Regions from separate parts of the Homo sapiens genome. Here region 1 is linked to region 2. The links are contacts of gene promoters, found by promoter capture Hi-C in blood cells and fetal thymus (Javierre and others, 2016). All regions are on one chromosome and are shown on one strand. Each heading gives the region's core, a stretch centred on a gene start or on the middle of the fragment in contact. The rest is flanking DNA. Distances are from core to core; before and after follow the strand shown. Region 1 holds the start of TMEM132B (transmembrane protein 132B). Region 2 holds the start of PIWIL1 (piwi like RNA-mediated gene silencing 1).

What was found. Contacts are between HindIII fragments. The CHiCAGO score rates a contact against its expected background, and 5 or more counts as called.
Region 1: a contact is called between a fragment that was not itself captured here and the fragment with the promoter of PIWIL1 in region 2, in 1 of 17 cell types (total CD4 T cells). The highest score is 9.8, in total CD4 T cells.

The regions. Positions count from the first base shown.
Region 1 is chr12:125,182,400-125,188,671 of GRCh38, reverse strand. TMEM132B (transmembrane protein 132B) reads right to left here and starts at 2,286. Exons shown (of 9, transcript NM_001366854.1): 1 at 1,806-2,286. The coding sequence starts at 1,872. RefSeq lists a silencer at 2,294-2,503 and an enhancer at 2,552-3,085. The HindIII fragment of the contact is 3,362 bases long and covers 3,313-6,272 here.
Region 2 is chr12:130,335,285-130,341,034 of GRCh38, reverse strand. It overlaps PIWIL1 (piwi like RNA-mediated gene silencing 1), which reads right to left and starts at 3,148. Exons shown (of 21, transcript NM_004764.5): 1 at 2,889-3,148. It overlaps LOC101927786 (a long non-coding RNA gene), which reads left to right and starts at 4,795. Exons shown (of 3, transcript XR_242978.5): 1 at 4,795-5,750. The HindIII fragment of the contact is 10,112 bases long and covers 1-5,750 here.

The sequences.
Region 1 (6,272 bases), core at 3,744-6,243, 5.2 Mb after region 2:
AGGGGAGCAGGCAAAGAGCCGGCCAGCAGCAGGTTTCAGTGGGAGCTCACCTTCCCTCCCAACATGGGGCCTTCCAGAGCCAGGCACAGGCTCTTCTGTTGCTGGGGGAGAGGGCGGGGGACGGGGGTGGGGGGGTGGTAGGGGGACCATCCTATTCTCTTACAAAGCATTATGCAGGCAGCTTCTCTGAGAGACTTCCGATATTCACTTATAAGCACATCCAGGCAAATGCTGACCCCCGTGGAGAAACAAAATAGAGACAAAACTGCAATTTTCAAGTCCGAGGGACTGCACTTTTGCAAACAGGTCCCAGGGCTTCAGCTAAGAGAAAACAGCCTCGGCCCCAGCAGCAGCCCCTCTCGTGGACCGCAGAGGAATGCCGAAAGCAAAACAGCTATCATAGCTGCTCCTTAGCCAAGCAGGCAAGATTCATCCACGTTAAGCCCAATGCCATTCTCTAGGCTGAACCAAAGCCGAACGCTGACGGAGATCTCCAATAGAAGGTTTTCTTCAAGTCGAAGGTGTTGGTAAATATTTTGGGTCACTTAAGGGCATCTCAAAGGAAGCCGACACTGACTTTTTCCATGCAAATAAAATACATCGAACATCAAGTTGACATGCCAGGTTTGCTCCTAACTGCAACCTTACCAAGACAGTGAAAGCCGAAAAGTTATAGTTGTATTTTTCTACTGCATTCTGCCTGTCTGTGCGATTTGTTTGTTAAGGAAATGGGGAGAGATTTTCTAAAGCAAAAGCTACCTGTTCCCAAATCATGGGTCTTGATTTTAAAAGGTTTGGAGAACTGAGATTTCAAAAGCACATGAAGGCTGCTCGTGACTGTTCCCGGGGTTCATCTGAGCCTTTAGGATTTTCTCCACTGCTTGCATGGGGTGGGGGGAGGGGAGGAATTGTCATTTTAGGATACGCTTTCTATAGAACCAACATGTAGCCACACCAAGGTGGGTAGAAAGCTTTCCAAACTCCAGCGAAGACAGACAATACCTGACTATTTTGCTTTTCCCACTCACTAGGATTGGGCGACAGCTGAGCTGGTTCAGCAGGGAGTCCAGCTCCCCGGTGCCCAGGCAATGGCTCTGGACAGCACCGCGTTCCAGGCTCCCCGGCGCGTCCTGGACTGCTTGGCCGCGGCTACCCTCTCCCGCCCGCCTTGGGGTCAGGGCGCTGGAGTAGACCGCGTTTGCAGGAGGCGCGCAGCGGGCTGCTCTTTGGCCAAGAGGAGGCCATTTGGCGAGGGTGGGTAGCTTGGGGAGGGCAGTGTGAAAGCAGGGGAGGGCCGCGGGGCGTGGGGAGGGGCTGCGGACAAGCCAGACAGCGCCGGCCGAGACATCTCCGGGGCCCGCAGGTGTCCCGGGAACGCACCACTGTGCGACCGCGGGCAGCAAGACACTGGAGAAGGGCTGCGTCGACGCCCCCGCCCAGCAAAACCCCTGGAGGAACTGGGACCTGGGGGGGATTTGGCCCAAGGCAGGGCGGGGAGGGGGCTCGATTCCTGCAGTCGCGTCCCCACCCGCCTCGAGAGGCTGAGTGCCCCGGTCTGTGGCCCCCGTGCGTCCCGAAAGGATCCGCAAGGAAGCTAAGGGTTTGGGGGAGAAGGCAGGCGGGCTCTCCCCAGGCGCTAGGCAAAGGGGAACGCGCCGGGGGCTCCTGGGTTCCCAGGGTCTCCCCAGGTCTGTCCAAGTCCGGGAGATGCGCGCTGCCAGGGACTTGAGAAGGAGGTAGCCGCCCGTTCACCCAACTTTGTGCGCCTCGGCCGGGGTCGGGGATGGGGTCCGGGGACGCGTTACCTGGGCACTGGAGCGCAGTCAGCGCCAGCAGGAGCCCGAGCGGCGGCGCCCGGCCCGGGGGCGGCATGGTCCTCGGCGCGCGGTGGGTGCGGCGCGGGGCTGCTCCTCTCGCGCGCCCGGCCCGGCCCGCGGCTCCCGGAGCAGCCCCCGGCGGCTACGCCCGGGCGCCGGGCATGGCTCGCTCCCAGCGCGCCGCTCCTCCCCAGACGCATGCGCCGGCGCTGGCGGCGCTTCCTCGGCTGCGCCTCTGCGCGCTCTCCTGGGCTCGGCCGTGCGTGGCTGGGGAGCTGGGGCGGCCGAGGCTCAGCGCCCCGCGCCCTGGCCGGCTGCCCCGCAGTTGGCCCGAGTTGCGCGGCCCCCGCCGCCGCCGCCGCCGCGGCTCCTGCGCCCCAGCGCCCGTCCCATCCCGGTCGCGCCGCCGCCGCCGCCGCCGCCTCTGCCATCGCCATCTGCCGGCCGCCCCTCGAGCCAGCGAGAGAGTGAGCGAGCGAGCGAGCGCCGGGGGGAGGAGGAGGAGGAGGAGGAGTAGGAGGAGGAGGAGGAGGAGAGGAGCGGAGGGCGGGGCCGCGGCCGGGGGAGGGGCCGCCCGGGAGCCGGGGCACAGGCGGCAGCCCGGCCAGTAGGCGGCGGGACGCGCCACTGCTCGGCGGTTCGGGGGAGGGCGCCCGGCCGGGAGGCTCCGGGAGCCCGCCGGGGGTCGCGGGCGCTCGCGGGTACAGGGGCTGCGGGAGGGGTGCGCAATGCAGAGAGGGGATGCCCAGCTAGATCCGGCGTCTTGGGGCGCAGCGGTAGGAGTTGCCAAGGTCGAGGGGTGAGGAGGCCAGCGGAGGGTCACCGGGATGGGGCAGCGACCTCTGGAGAGGTGGTGTCTGCCGGGGCCAGAGACTGCAAGACTGAGCGCGGACAGGAGGTCCCGGGTTAAATGTGGCACAGCTAGGGAGTGCCTGTGGGAGAGGGGAGAGGAGAGAGGGGAGGGCCTCCGGGAGGCCGAGGCTGTGTGCAGAGCCTCTGCACGGCACCGGGATGGGGGCTAGGGGTGCGCAGGCTGGGTGCGGTGACCTGAAACACAGCGAAGGCGGCCTGGGGATGGCCACCCGGGTGAGGCAGGGTCCCTTATTTACCCAGGCTAGAGGATGCGCCTTCCCATTTCGCGCAGGCCCTAGGAGCACGCGGAGGCAGCCAGGAGTTCTCCTGGGAAGGGCAGATTCCCTGGCGGTCCCGGGAATGAGTTCCCAGCGCAGGGTCAGGCAGTGACGGAGCGGAGGTGTTGCGCAGGGCCGGGTACTAGGTGGTCGAATTCTTCCATCCAGGGGCAGGGACGCAGCCAGAGTGCGGAGGGAGGTCACAGGTCACACGGAGCCCCAGTACCTATTATCCCAGAAACCACTGATCCTCCTGGGCGCCCCACCCCCAACCAGGGCAAAGCCACGGGGGGCTAAGCCGAATGAATGAGTCATGCTGGGAGCATGTGGGGGAGCCTCCAGCAGCGCTCAGATGCCTTCAAGCTTCCCCACCACGCTGGGAGGACAGGGGATATGGGGGGTTGCCCACCTGGGAGGGTGGCTTGGAGTCCTGGCTCCGCCCCAGCCCCCACCACACCAGCCACTTGCTCTGCCATCTCAGTTTTCCATGAAAAAGTGGGTCAAACTCTTTGAAAATGGTCAATAAGGCAGCGTGGGGTGATGAAAAGACAGATTTGGGGAAGGCTCTGGAGTCATGGAGTCTTGGCTGAGAATCCCAGCTCTGCCGCTCCTTAGCTGTGCAAGCTGGGGCGAGTCCCTTATTCCTCCCTGAGCCTCAGTTTTCTCATCTGAGAGATGGAAGGCATTGCACATCACCTGGTGTCCCCAATAACACATACAAAGCCCCTGACCTAGGAAGTCGGAACTCATTTAAAGGAGTCAGTGTCAACATTATCATTCTCATCATCATGGCCATTATTATGATAGATCTGATTTTCCTCTGCGGGCCCAGAGCTCACATCAGAAGGACAATCCTCCCCACTCCCGGCTGCCAAGAGGGGATGGGGGACAGGGCACCTGCTTGATTAGTACAGACAAGCTCATTAGCAGAGGCAGCACTCAGTTCTTCCTAGATAAAAGAAGGAAGAAAGCCAGGGGCAGGTGGTGAGTCTCCAGCCCAGGTTAATTAGGAGACGTAAAGGGATTTTCCCGTGGCTGTTAATCGGCTTCCTTTACAAGGGGCCCATGCCCAGGCCAAGCCCCCTTTGGGCTCCCTGGCAAGGCCTGCAATGTGTGGAGAGCCATACAACAGGCTGGACGACGGGATTGGGGGTCTCCTCGGGCTTAGGGTGGCCTTGCGAGGGGCCCATCTGTCCCCTTTCTGTGACCCTTTCCCCAGATAAGAGGATGATCCTGGAGACGTGGTCAGGACTCTCTTAGGGTCCTCTGTGCCCGGCTGCCCCCAACACCTCTTTCCTGTTCACTTGTTCATAAGCATCTGCAGAGCTGAGCACCTACTGTGTGCCGGCCTCTGCAGGGGATGGTGAAGCAGAAATGAATGGACGACAGCAGGGGAGAGCCACAGCAGGAGTGACCGCGGGGTGCTGGTGCCAAGGTGAACCGTGTGTTTGACCAGGAAGCAGGTCAGTGAGGCTGGGAGACTGTGGCCAAAGATAAAAGTCATTTTCTGGCAGGGTAAGGGGTCATTCTGTGGCTTTAGTGGCGGTGCTTGGAGAGGGTTGTGAATCAGTCCAGCAAGTCCCCAAGCCAGTGGTCACACAGTCCCAGGTGTGATGGCAGATGGCAGTTGCCTTCCCCCCAACCCCACACTCAGGACTACCTGGTCATACTCCAAGAAAGCACCTTTCAGTGGGGAAGGGCACTTCCCCATTAAAATATGCTGATGGTGGTTGAGCCAGACGCTGAAGAGAGGAATCTCCTTTTGAGGGTAGCTTTTCCATGCCCCAGCTGTGTGACTCTGGACAAGCCCCTAATCCTCTCTGAGCTCATACGTGGGGTAGGGATGAGAATTCCAGCCTGGCTCAGCCTGTCTTGTGGTTGGATGAGGATTTCTGCATATTAACCATGCCCCTAAGCCTGTATCTCTAAAGGGGGTGTTTCTGGAGGAAATAAGCAGGGGAAAAAAGCCTCCCTGGATTCTGAAGGGCGGGGGGGAATCTGAGAGGCTGGCGGCAGTAACGAGGAGACCCCAGGGCTGAGCGGAATTCTCCTCTCACTCCTACCTAGACTCTCGCCCCCAGCCTGCTGGCCTCATAGCCTGGGCAGGACCGTAAGAATTACACAGCCTACAATCTCCCCCTAAGTATAGATGGGATACTGAGTCCAGGAATTGTCCTTCTCCTGGATCTGTAAGTGTGGGGAGGCCGACTCGACTAACAGCCAGCCTCGAGCCCCAGCATAGCCATGCAAGGCTTCCTCAGGCCGCACCACCCCCTGCACAGCAAGAGACTGCCTCCAGCACGGATTGCTCCCGGTCCGTCCCCGCACCCCAGTTCTGCTGCAGCTCAGCCCACGCGCCCGCCGGGCTACCGGCGAAGAGCAACATTGCCATCTCGTGGCTGAAACTGGAACTGCAGGTCTGGAGGGCGCTGCAGAAGGAAGGTCAGGGTGGGGGTGCGGGTAGGGGTGAGATGGAGGCGAATAGGCAGAGAGGTTTCCCCACCTCAGCCAACTGGCAGCGGCAATAACAGACCCCTTTGCCCTTGAACGCCAACACGCAGGCAGCTGCTGCCGTGGTGACCACCCGTTGAAATTCTTTGCAAAGCCTGGGACTGTTTGTTGTCCATTGCACACATCGATGTTTCTGGCATGTTCAGGGAACACAGAATTGACTTAGATTGCATTTGCACCACAGGTGAGTGGTAGGGGAAAGGGGCCTCTCAAAATAGAAGCCAAGCTCACTTATACAGGTAATCAAGGATTTACTAAGAATAAAGAATTTCAAGAAATCAGTTACTTGCACACCTGGACATATGGACCCATGATGGAAGGAAGGAGCCTCTTTATGGCAACTTGCAGTCATCCATATCACTCTCTGTCCCCTCCCCTGCTTTGTTCTTCTTCGTAACAGTGGCTACCACCCAGCATCATATGTACAGAGAGTGGCCCAATCAGTCCTGGTTATATTAATGTATGAATGAAAGGAGCTCAGGGCTGGACAGTACAGTAAGCACTGAGCCCTGGGATGTGAGCCCATGAACACTCAGACCAGGAAGGACTTGACTTCCCTTCCAGGTCCACTCCCAACTGGGAGGAGGCCACAGGGGAGAAATGGCTTTCTGGTGTGTTTGAGCAGAAAGCACCTTGAAGAGCTCTGACCCCTGGCTTCCCAGGATAAAATGATTCCTGGACCGGCAGGGGCTGGGAAGGGTGTGAGGTGGCAGCCAGGGGTGAAGGCACCATCGGGATGGGATTTTGGAGCAAGTGTAAAGTGTGCTAGAGCAGAACAAGACTAATAACAAATAATAATGATAATAATAAATAA
Region 2 (5,750 bases), core at 1,899-4,398:
CTTGGCTTCATGATCTTCACAGAAAGATAAATCTAATGCCATTTTTCAATTTTAAAAACCTCCGACTTCCTATTGTATTTTACAGGATTAAAGCAAATATTCATTGTATAAGACCCCTTACAATATGACTCTAAATCAGCAATTTCCAAAGGAGTTTACACAGGATAATCCGCTGAGGTGCCAGCATATTACAACTAATTTTAAATCTCATTTTAAACTGCTTTGTATTTATTTTATAATGTGCGCATCATGACAATGATTACGTATGCATGCTCGGCTTACACACGGGGCATACTGGCGCATGAAAGTCTCTTACTGATAATCTACAGGCAGCGTCCCCAGCAGCAGCAGCAGCACCACCACCACCACCACCAACCCCCCTCCCCCCACCCCCCCTCCCCCAACCACCACCACCAACCCCCACGCCCCATGGACCTGTACCGGAACCAGGCCACACAGCAGGAAGTGAGCCGCAGTGAGTGAGCAGGACAGCCTGAGCTCACCTCCTGTTAGATCAGTGGAGGCATTAGATTCTCCTAGGAGTGAGAACCCTACTGTGAAGTCGGCGTGCCAAGGGTCTGGGCTGCCTGCTCCTTATGAGAATCTAATGCCTGATAATCCGAGGTGGAACCGTTTCATCCCGAAACCATCCCTCACCGGTCCGTGGAAAAATTGTCTTCCAGGAAATCGGTCCCTGGTGCCAAAAAGACTGGGGACTGCTGATCTACAAATCAATCTGAAAGCATCCGCTTGAGACTCCAGCAAACACAACTTGCTTCCTATCACTATCAATTCCGTGACTCACCCTACACCGTGGCACACCCTCTGCTAACAAAGCCTCACCCTCCTCTGAAACCACAAGAATCCAGTGAACCGCTTAAGGACCAGCTCGCAGGCCATCCCTTGCTCCCTTCTCCGAAAGCCGTTTCCCCGGCGTGACCACGGTCACCCTACTACATGGTAACCTGTTTTCTCCCTCCCCACATCTCTGCACTCCATAGCTTCTCCAACTAGGCTGCGAATCACAATTGATGCCTTTGCACCCAGTCCGTCGCTTGACACCTTACAAACAACGGTGTGAAACAGTGATTAAAAAACAGTGACAAGCTGAACTCTCATCTCCAGCAGGAAATATTCCTAAAGCAGCACGTCAGTTCTCAAAGCCTGGTCCCTGACGGGCAGCATCTGGACTGGCTGGGAACAGAAATTACGGGGTGGGGAGCGGCTCTCAGCCCTCCCGAGTTAGAAGCCGACTGGAAGCAGCCCTCCAGCTGATTCTCATCATCTCCAGGGCCTGAAACCCACGGCGGCGCGCTGTGCTGGTCACTAAATACCTGGGGGGCTCAGCGCTCTACGTCCAGGTTTCCCAGCACAACTCTGGTTTTCAGCTTTATCTCCTTCCAGTTTCAAAACCACCTCAGTCTGGATATTGAATTCTTAAAGTCAGAAAGCAAGTGTGTGCTTCCAATAACCACACTCGCTGGAAATCACCTCTCCGATTCGCTACCAGCTCTGCCAAAGACGCTTCCACCTAACGTCCCTCCGGCGCTGAGCTCAGGACCACGCCGTGCACGTGGGAACCACCACCGCGCCACACGCCTAAAAACCGTTGAGCGGTACATTCTATGCGAGCGGGGTCTCTCTGGCCACAACTTAAAAACGAAAAGAAAAGCGCTCAGAGAACAGGCTGCGCAGGGGTGCAGCCGGCTTTGCCCTGGAGGCCGCCGGGGCTGAAGACGGCGAGAGCATCCATCCCAGGACGCCACCGCCCCGCCGCCCCTTTCCCTCCACAGGTGCCAAGGGCCGGGCCGCCAGCACCCGCGAGGACCCCCGGGCCTCGCAGAGCCCGGCCGTCGCGGTCGCCGCCTCACTTGGGGTCCTCCGGAGTTCCGTCCTCTTCCCAACGTCCGGCTCCCAAGGCTCCCGGGGGCGCAGCGCAGCGGCGGCGGACGCGGGAAGGGGCCCTCGCCCTCCGCAGAGATCGCGCCCCGCGGCCGCGTGGGTAGTGCGGGAGGTCCCGAAGGCCCTCCTGCAGAGCTCTCAGGTCCCCGCAGTCTCACGCACGGCCGCCAATGCGGAGACCTCCGCCCCCGCACCCCCGGCAACTCAGGCCTCAGCCTCTCACCCCGGCCCCTGCACCTGGGACCTCGCCCCCGCACCCCGGCCCCTGCACCCCCGCACCCCGGCCCTACAGCCCCGGCAAGTCGGGCCTCAGCGCTTCCCCCCGGCCCCGCACCCCCCACACCTGATACATCGCCCCCGCACCCCGGCCCCTGCACCCCAGGCTCCTGCATCTCCCAAACCTGGGACCTCGCCCCCGCACCCGGCTCCTGCATCCCCCGCACCTGGGACCTCGCCCCCGCACCCGGCTCCTGCATCTCCCACACCTGGGACCTCGCCCCCGCACCCGGCTCCTGCATCCCCCGCACCTGGGACCTCGCCCCCGCACCCGGCTCCTGCATCTCCCACACCTGGGACCTCGCCCCCGCACCCGGCTTCTGCATCTCCCGCACCTGGGACCTCGCCCCCGCACCCGGCTCCTGCATCTCCCACACCTGGGACCTCGCCCCCGCACCCGGCTCCTGCATCTCCCGCACCTGGGACCTCGCCCCCGCACCCGGCTCCTGCATCCCTTGCACCTGGGACCTCGCCCCCGCACCCGGCTCCTGCATCTCCCACACCTGGGACCTCGCCCCCGCACCCGGCTCCTGCATCTCCCGCACCTGGGACCTCGACCCCGCACCCGGCTCCTGCATCCCCCGCACCTGGGACCTCGCCCCCGCAACCCGGTCCCCGCACCTCGAGCCTCACCTCCACATCCCGGACCCCCAGCCGCCGCCCCCGCATCCCGGCCCCCGCACACCTAGCACCTCAGCCTGGCCCCGCACCTTGGACCGCTGCCCTCGCCCTAGTCCTGGTCCTTGCACCTCAGCCCGAGGCCAACAGCCCCAACGGCTCCCGCGGAGATCCCTCCGCGCCGCCGACCTCCCAGGACCTCCTTCGGCCCGCGCCCACCTCGCCTTCGGCGCTGGGTTCCCGAGAGAGCCAGGGACACGCGGGCAGCGAGCAACAGGCGCTCTTTTCCCGGGCGGATGAACACCGCCTCCCGGGCGCCGGCCTCGTGTCTGTACGCCATACGCCCAGTAACGGCGGAAAGCGGCGCGCGCCACGCCCTCATTGGCTGCCCCGCAAACGGCGGTTTCTGATGTGGCCGGGGCGGGACCAGAGGAGCCCCGCCCCACAGGCCCCGGCCCCGCCCCTCCAAGACCCCGTCTGGCCCCTCCCGGACACCCGGCACAGGCCCAACAAGCCAGGCCCGCCCCGCCCCACAGGCCCTGCCCCTGGCCCCCCAAGACACCGCCTGGCCCCGGACAGACACCCCGCACATGCCCTGGCCCCTCCCCATAGGCCCCGCCCCCATCCCGCCAAGACCCCGCCTGGCCCTGCCTAGACGCCACGCCCAGGCCCCCACAGGCCCCGCCCCCGCCCCACAGGCTCCGCCCCTGTCCCCCCAAGACCCCGCCTGGCCCCGCCCAGACACCCAACACGTGCCCTGCCCCCTCCCCACAGGCCCCGGCCAGCCCCACCCAGGCCCCGCCCTGTTCCTCTTCTGCTTCGCCCAGACCCCCGGCCTTCCCTGGCTTGACTCCTGCAGTTCCCCCAGTGCCAGCCCCCTGCAGGCGGACACGGGGTCGGGCCAGTTCCCTACTAGCTCGTGGAACTGGGCGGCGGCGCACGAAGTAGACCCTCCATAGACTTCGAAATGGTGCCCACGTGGGCACCGAGCGCCCTACTGTAGCAGTGGACTCGATCTTGGTCTGGCCTTTAACGTCGGAAGCTCTTTCACTCAGCACACAGAGATTTGAACTTTGACCCCAAAGAAAATAAAACTGCAATGCAAGTCTAAGGTGCCAGGAGGCCGTTACCTGGAAATTTAGCTTTCAATGACTTGTGCCTTGGGTGCATGCCAACGTGGACCGCAGGGGTTCTCAGCCTTCACCTGCGGGGGATCACCTGCAGGGCTGGTTAGGACACAGACCAGAGATTCCGGTCTGCAGGCTCCACAGGTGGGCCCCGCCGGCTGCATTTCCAAGGCATCGCAGGTGGTAGCGACCGGGTCTACGCCGAGCTAGGTGCCCTCCATAGGAGTTAATTTCCTCATGGAGGCAAAGTCAACAGCCACAAAACAACCGGAAATATTGTAAGATAGAACAGGTTTATTTGTCAAGGTGGAAGTGGGACTGAGGCTCACTAACTGCCTGACCTGTTATGTTCCATAACTATAAACATGATTGTAGGAGGTAGTAGAAATAGGGTCGCCTCTGCAGACAGGTTTTAAAACTGCATTTATACGGTAAACATAGTGCTTTTCCTTTTTTTTTTTTGTGAGACGGAGTCTCACTCTGTCGCCCAGGCTGGAGTGCAGTGGCAGGATCTTGGCTCACTGCAACCTCCGTCTCCCAGCCTCCTGAGTAGCTGCGACTACAGGCACCCACCACCATGCCCACATAATTTTGTGTTCTTTGTTTTGTTTTGAGACAGGGTCTGGCTCTGTCAGGCTGGAGTGCAATGGTGGGATCATGGCTCCCTGCAGCCTCGACCTCCTGGGCTCAGGTGATCCTCCTGCCTCAGCCTCCCCTGTAGCTGGTACTACAGGTGTGTGCCACCTGTAGTAATTTTTTTGTATTTCTTGTAGAAATACGAGAAATACACCCAGCTAATTTTTTTGTATTTCTTGTAGAAAGAGGGTTTCATCATGTTGCCCAGGCCGGTCTCAAACTTCTGGGCTCAAGTGATCCACCCATCTTGGCCTCCCAATGTGCAGGGATTACAGGCATAAGCCACAGAGCCCGGCCTACATATTGCTTATTATTCATACTTAAAAGCGCATGCCTGGGAATCGGGGGCTGGAGAGGGCTGAAGGCTCCCCAAGCCACCTTCCCAAATCCTACGTCTCATCTGTGCCATGAAAGGGGCAGGTTAGATGTCAGCGTTTCCCACACTAGCCTGAGTGTAAGCATCCACTGAGGGAACTTCCAAATAATACAGACTCCCAGATCACGCTGATTCCAGGAGGTCTGGGACGGGTGCAAGGAATTTCAAGAAGTAACATCAAGTTATTCTTATGCTCAGAGAAGGCTAATAAATTTGGGGCGAGGCCAAAAGGCGTTGGAAGCCAGTAGTTTGAAAGAAAAATAGCTTTCCAAAGGCTTTCGCTTTGTAAAAACTAAATGGTGCCTTTTGGAATACAATGTGAACATAACTTTTCCAAGGATTTAAGGTGTTGATGAGAAAGACATTCTGAGACCTGCCAGCAGATGGAGCCATAAAACAAGAAATAGATGTTTACAGCCTCAACTCGGGAGAAAAATACCGTGAATGCACCTTACACTATAGAAGTAACACTTTTCCCTCTGCTTTATTTTCTCTATATGCTAAACTCCTTACTTGCCTCTGCTAAAGAACATCGCTGGAGTGTCTTGGTGTGTGAAGTATGAAATAGTTTCTAAAGACATAAGTTGTGATATAGCAAGACAGAGGCAAAACCCCTCATTCTTCTGAGAGTGTAAACATCATGTCGCAAGAAGCTCACCTAAAATTTGAAAAGGAAAACTCAACGAAAATTTGAAAAGAAATTCAAGGAAAAAAAAATGTGACCTTTAAAATTTCCATGTTGACAGCACCACCAGGACCCCTTCTGGGATCCGTTGCTAGGTATAACTTCGTGCCTGACTCTGGAAGTTAAAAAA